Linked DNA regions of Homo sapiens: region 1 is linked to region 2. Evidence: promoter capture Hi-C in 16 types of primary human blood cells and fetal thymus (Javierre and others, 2016). All regions are on one chromosome and are shown on one strand. The core of a region is centred on a gene start or on the middle of the fragment in contact, and the rest is flanking DNA. Distances in the headings are between cores, read along the strand shown.

Region 1 (2,865 bases), core at 177-2,676, 290 kb after region 2:
TTTTTACCCTTTTAGTACTTCACTTTCCTTAACAATAAAATGAAGAAAATGTTCATTTTCTCACAAGGAGTTTTAAAGATTAAAAATTACATGTATAAAGTGCCAGTTACAGTGTTTGGTAGCAGGTGTCAGTCAATGAAAAGTAGTTATTAAGTACACAAGGTAGAATTATGATTCTGCCTATTGTAACTTTCTGAGTGAGAGTTTGGAGATGATAGTGGCCTGTAAAATTATGCAAGAAGTCGAATTGAATCAAAGTGGGATCTCCGAGATAGAAGCCCTTACCGAATTCCACTGACTGCTGTCCATGCTGTTGCCACAACATCTTTGACAGAGAAGCTTGTGCACTCCTGCAGCTCCCTGGCCCTGTCCAGAAACACCCCTGATATGAGTTGTTCAAAACCTAAATGAGGCAGGAGAGATTTGAGGATGGTAATGGTGGCTATGCTAAAATCTCTTCTTAAATGATTCTCTTCAAATTTTAGTGAGCATCAGAGATCTTATTCAGTAGGGCTGGAGCGAAGCCCAGAATTCTGCATTTTAAAAAAGCACGTGCCTCCCTTTGTAGGTGATTCTGATGTAGGTAGTCCACAGTCTGCTCACCTAGTTTTCATATGCTCCATATATGTCCAATTCTATTAAAGAAAAGCCTTATATTTAGTATACTGTCTTTTGTCAAGAGCTACTGTGAACATAGAACATTTCCGGATCATTTGTAAAATGAAAATTTAAAATACCGTATTTCAGAGATACGTCATAAGCTTACTACTTTTGCCCATGGATGCCACTAAGGATGCATCGTTCAAGTCTTTCTTCCCACTACCAACATATCTAAGTCAGAGTCTCTTAAATAGCCCGAATAGCTACAGAAGCTCTTCATCAGACGATTGAGCTTTGAAACAACCAATAAGAGTCTGGGGAGCCATTCTGAGTAGTGAGGAAAGCTCATGGATTATATAGCAATGAGAGACCCAAACACCAAGCATTCCAGGGCCTTTGGTTTTTCACAGATGGCACTGTGGAGGAGATGGATGCAGCCGTAAATCAAGGCGACACAAGGCAGATGAAAGAGTTGTGAAACCAAAGAGGGATGTCAAGAAAAGATTCTCAAAGACCAGGTGCCTGGTTAACTGTAAAAAAGATCTTTGTTGGTGGCATCACAGAAGACACTGAAGAACATCACCTAAGAGATTATTGTGAAGGTATGAGAAAATAGGAGTGGTTGAAATCATGACTGAGTGAGGCAATGGCAAAAAGAAGAGCTTTACTTTTTTAACCTTTGAGGACAGCCATGACTCTGCGAATAAGATTGTCTCTCAGAAATACCGTAAAGTACATAGCCACTACCATGAAGTATGGAAAACCATGTTGAAGAAAGAAATGGTTAGTACTTCAGCCAGCCAGAGAGGTCAGAGTGGTTCTGGAAACTTTGGTGGTGGTCATGGAGGTGGTTTTGGTGGGAGTAACAACTTTGGTCATCAAGGAAAAATTTCACTGGTAATGGTAGCTTTGGAGGCAGCTGTATTGGTGGATATGGGGGCAGCAGGGATGGCTATAATGGATTTAGTACTTAAATGATGGAAGCAGTTTTGGAGATGGTGGGAACTACAACGATTTTGGTAATTACAACAACCAATCTTCAATCAATTTTGAACCCATGAAGAGAAGAAACTTTGGAGACAGAAACTCTGGCACCTAAAAAAAAAAGAAAGAAAGAAACTCTGGCCCCTGTGGTGGCTGAGGCTACTATGTTGCCAAAACATCAAATCAAGGTGGCTAAGGCATGTGAAAGTTGCCAGTACCAGAATGGAGTCACTTATGTCAAAACCCTAACAAAGTGGAGTCAGGAGGCCCTAAAAAAGTTCTCACCGCACATGCCTATAATATACCTTATCACAAGAAATTCCTGCAGGTCCCACATGCCCCACTTCTGCACTCACCCTGCAACAGAGCTTATCACAGGAATTTTTCAGGCCTGCAGTATTTCAGACAAGCTGCCAGCACCAGGACAGTTACTCAGCAACAGCCATCTCCACCAATGAATAAACGCCAACTCCTGCACTGAGCTTCTGTGACCCGTGAGCTTTATTTCAAGCTTTATTTCATGGATTTCTCTTTGTCTTTAAAAGCTTTCCCTTTCCCCAACTCCCCTGGATACATTAATGGCCCGTCATAGCTTGCATACCCTGCAATTGCAATCCCTCTGCTATTCCTAGATAAACTTGTTTGTTCTAAAGAGCCTGTCTTTCTGAGTTTCTTTTTAGGTTGACAGGCAGTTCCAGTAGCAGCAGTAGTTATGGCAGTGGCAGAAGGTTTTAATTAATGCCAGGAAACAAAGCTTAGCAGGAGAGGAGAGCCAGAGAAGTGACAGGGAAACTACAGGTTACAACAGATTTGTGAACTCAGCCAAGCACAGTTGGTAGCAGGGCCTAGCTGCTACAAAGAAGATATGTTTTAGACAATACTCAGGTGTATGGGTAAAAAACTCAAGGACCGTATTTGTGACTAATTGTATAACAGGTTAGTTTAGTTTCTGTTCTGTGGAAAGTGTAAAGCAGTCTTAACAAAGAGTTTTAATGTGTTTTTTTTTTCCTTTGCACTCATCCTGTTGATTGCCAAATGTCATAGTCTGATCATGATGTTGAATAAATGTCTTTTAAAAGATGTTTTTCACTGGGTGTCGTGGCTCACGCCTGTAATTCCAGCACTTTGAGAGGCCGAGGCAGGCAGATCATTTGAGGTCAGGAGTTTGAGACCAGCCTGACTAACATGGTGAAACCCTGTCTCTACTAAAAATACAAAAAATGAGTCAGGAGTGGTGGCACGCACCTGTAATCCCAGCTACTCAGGAGGCTGAGGCAGGAG
Region 2 (2,917 bases), core at 61-2,560:
TCCTATAATAGGAAGCCAGGACTGCAGGACAACACGTGGTCAAGGAGACCTGAAAATCAGGTCTGAGAGCATTTAGCCTGGCCTTGGGAGATTTCCTCCTCAAGAATCCTAAGCTTCTGGGGCCTTGATTTGCCTTCCACCTCAAGAATCCTAAGCTTCTGAGGCCTTGATTTGCCAGTAGGCAATGTCTAGCATCAATGTCAGGCAGAGGCTGGGGTTCCTGGTTTTAAATAGCCAAAACCTCCTTGTGAGATTTCCAAATGGAGAGGGGGACCTTGATGACAGGAAACCACCATTAGGATCAATGGACAAAGATTGCTCCAAGAGATTACTTTTAAGCTTGTGGAAACTCTGGAGCAGGACTTCTGGTGTCTTTGTTTCTATCTTGGCTCACACAGATATATGAGGAACATATGTCAGGGCCAGGGTTAGGCCCAGGGCACCTTTGAAATATTGCCATCCCTAGACAGTCCAGGAGACTGTTTACTTTGGGCCCTGTAAAGGACCTATCTCCTGTGCTATAATAAAGATACACAGTTAACTTCATCACACCCTTTGCCCTTCACCCGTGGTCATTAACACACAGGGCCTGCTCAACCATGTTTGTAACAAGGACCAGTTCATATCCTCCTTCTGTATGCAAACCATTCTTCAAAGTGAAAGTCACCTGGGTACCACCTGCCACCCAGAGGCTAGACAACTGCCTACTAGGTTACAAACTGTCCCCACACCTTCTCAGTTTATCTGCTTCTTGGTCTCCCTAGGAACCTCTACATGGACACCAGAATGCTGGTGCTGTCTTACGAAATATTAACCACATTTATGGGCCAAAATATCACAATTTCTAGACATGCTTCTTCATTTTTAAGATGGGAGATGCTTGCTGCTCCCTTCACTGAGACTTCAGATTGGGCATCACACATGGTATAACTGACTGCTCAGGATATGCCAGGCCTTTTGCTATGTAGTGTCTGTTAACCTCATGCGGTGCTCCCAGCCCTGTGAGGTACGCATTATGCTCTGCATTTTTTTCAGATGAGAAAACAGGCTTGGAGGTTGGGTATCTTTCCCAAGGACACCTGGAGGAGAAGGTGTAGAGCTGGGACGCGTCTGGATCCCCCGACTATGGCCTGAGAGCGGGATGTGAGTGGCCTGGGCCCTCGCGAGACCCCGACCCCGCCCGCGGCAGGTGGCCGGGCACAGCCGAGAAGTAAGCCCTGCCAGCTCTCCCGGGTGCGGGGACGCGCGCGCCCACCTTCGCAAACGAGACTTCCGGGATCCCGGAGGGGGCGGAAGTCGAGGCCTCTCTCGCTTCCGGCTCGGCCATTGTTTTTGGTCTAACGGGCAGTAGAGTGTCCGGCTTCGGTGCCGAGTGCCACCGCGAGTGGGCCGAGACGCGGAGGGAGGCGCGGCCGGAGCTCGGGTCGCCGACGCTGGCCAGGACCGCGCTTCTTCCCGGCGGCAGGCGGCGCGGTCCCCGTGACTCTCAGAAGCCGCCCGATGTAGAGCCGCTTCTTTGTCTCATACCCCTGACCATTCGTGCGTGGCACGGAGCCGGGTATCTGCGGGTACAGCGATGAACAGGGCAGACGTGGCCAGGTGAGCGGCGCTGCTGAAGCCTGGTTTAACACGAAAGGTAGATCGCTGTTTTCCCAGCTCTTGCAGTAGGAAACTGTATGAACTGTCATATTTGGGTCAGACCCAGGCTCAGAATCGCAAACGTGGAGCGTGACTTGGAAATGCAAAAATCCAATTGAGATTTTAAAGTGCTGAGCATTCGGAACACTATGGGAAGCAGGAGAATGGCCTGAACTTTCTACATATATGGGATCTTAGAGCAGAGTTTACAGATTATTTTAAAGTCCTTCTTTGTCTTTTTAAAGAGATTGAGACACAGGGATCTGGGCTCTTGGTGAACTGGAAGCACAGCACAGATGCCCTAGTTACCAGTAAGGTGCTGATTTTAAAACGTTCAAAGTTTTCCTCCACTTCAGTGTCAGCTAAATGTATCATATTCATTCATTTCCCAATTATGTGTGCCATGTGCACACGTGTACAAAGATGACTGGAAGTCAGCTCTGCCCTTTGTATCCTCCCAGAAAGCAGGGGAGACAGTCGTGTAAACCACAAACGATTACAGTGTGAGATGTGCTCTACTAGAGGTTTGAATGAAAAAGGTAGTTTGGGATCACTGAGACAATAACCACCTCTCTAAGCCTAGCGTGATCAGGAAGGCTTTCTAGGGGAGGTGCATTGAGTAAAAAAAGGTCTAGTATTTTCTGATTCCATTTGGTTCCTTTCCTTTGGTGGCCGTGCAGCAGTTTGGAGGGTGAGAGTGGTGAGTTGTGCATAAACCAGTTAAAGGGTTATAGTGAGAGGTACACAAAGGGAAGCTACCAGCACTCTTCCTGATGGGGCAATCAGGAAAACCAAGAAAAAGTTGCCTTTGTTCATGGTCTTGACAGACAAGTTTGCCAAAAGTTGAAGAAGAAAAATTCAAAGAAAGAGTATGTGTGGCTTCTAAGTGTGTCTCTAGAGCTTTAGCTCCAAACTTTCTTTATTTTGCATTTCTATCAGTAGAAGAGGTTTGATCACTTACTCCCTACATTGGTTTATTTGTAATTTAAACATGAATACTACTATACAAATTGTAATGCACATTATAAAACATACATTAAATAGGAGTTAAATAACTTAGTATTTTCTCTTGCACCCTTTGGGATAGCCTGCATTTCCCACATTGGAGACCATTGCTGTCTTTCTAGCATGGGTACTTGGGGTGAGTGGTAGAGGGTGTGGCTGGTTGTGAAGGGGGTAAGGCCAGGTTGTGAAGGGCTGTGAATGCAAGGCATAGACATTTAGATTTTATCCTGTAGGTAATGGGAGCCACTGAAACTTTAAGAAGGGCATCATTTGG

The links. Contacts are between HindIII fragments. The CHiCAGO score rates a contact against its expected background, and 5 or more counts as called.
Region 1: a fragment that was not itself captured here is called in contact with the fragment with the promoter of ZKSCAN7 in region 2 in 5 of 17 cell types (naive CD8 T cells, total CD8 T cells, endothelial precursors and 2 more); the score reaches 5.9 in naive CD8 T cells.

Annotation. Positions count from the first base shown.
Region 1 is chr3:44,843,820-44,846,684 of GRCh38, forward strand. The region is part of intron 30 of KIF15 (kinesin family member 15); the gene reads left to right. It also overlaps the pseudogene HNRNPA1P77. Among named protein-coding and RNA genes, the nearest start is that of MIR564, 17 kb to the right of the region's middle. The HindIII fragment of the contact is 1,334 bases long and covers 760-2,093 here.
Region 2 is chr3:44,553,883-44,556,799 of GRCh38, forward strand. ZKSCAN7 (zinc finger with KRAB and SCAN domains 7) reads left to right here and starts at 1,311. Exons shown (of 6, transcript NM_001288590.2): 1 at 1,311-1,599. RefSeq lists silencers at 1,065-1,114, 1,225-1,364 and an enhancer at 2,877-2,917. The HindIII fragment of the contact is 2,808 bases long and covers 338-2,917 here.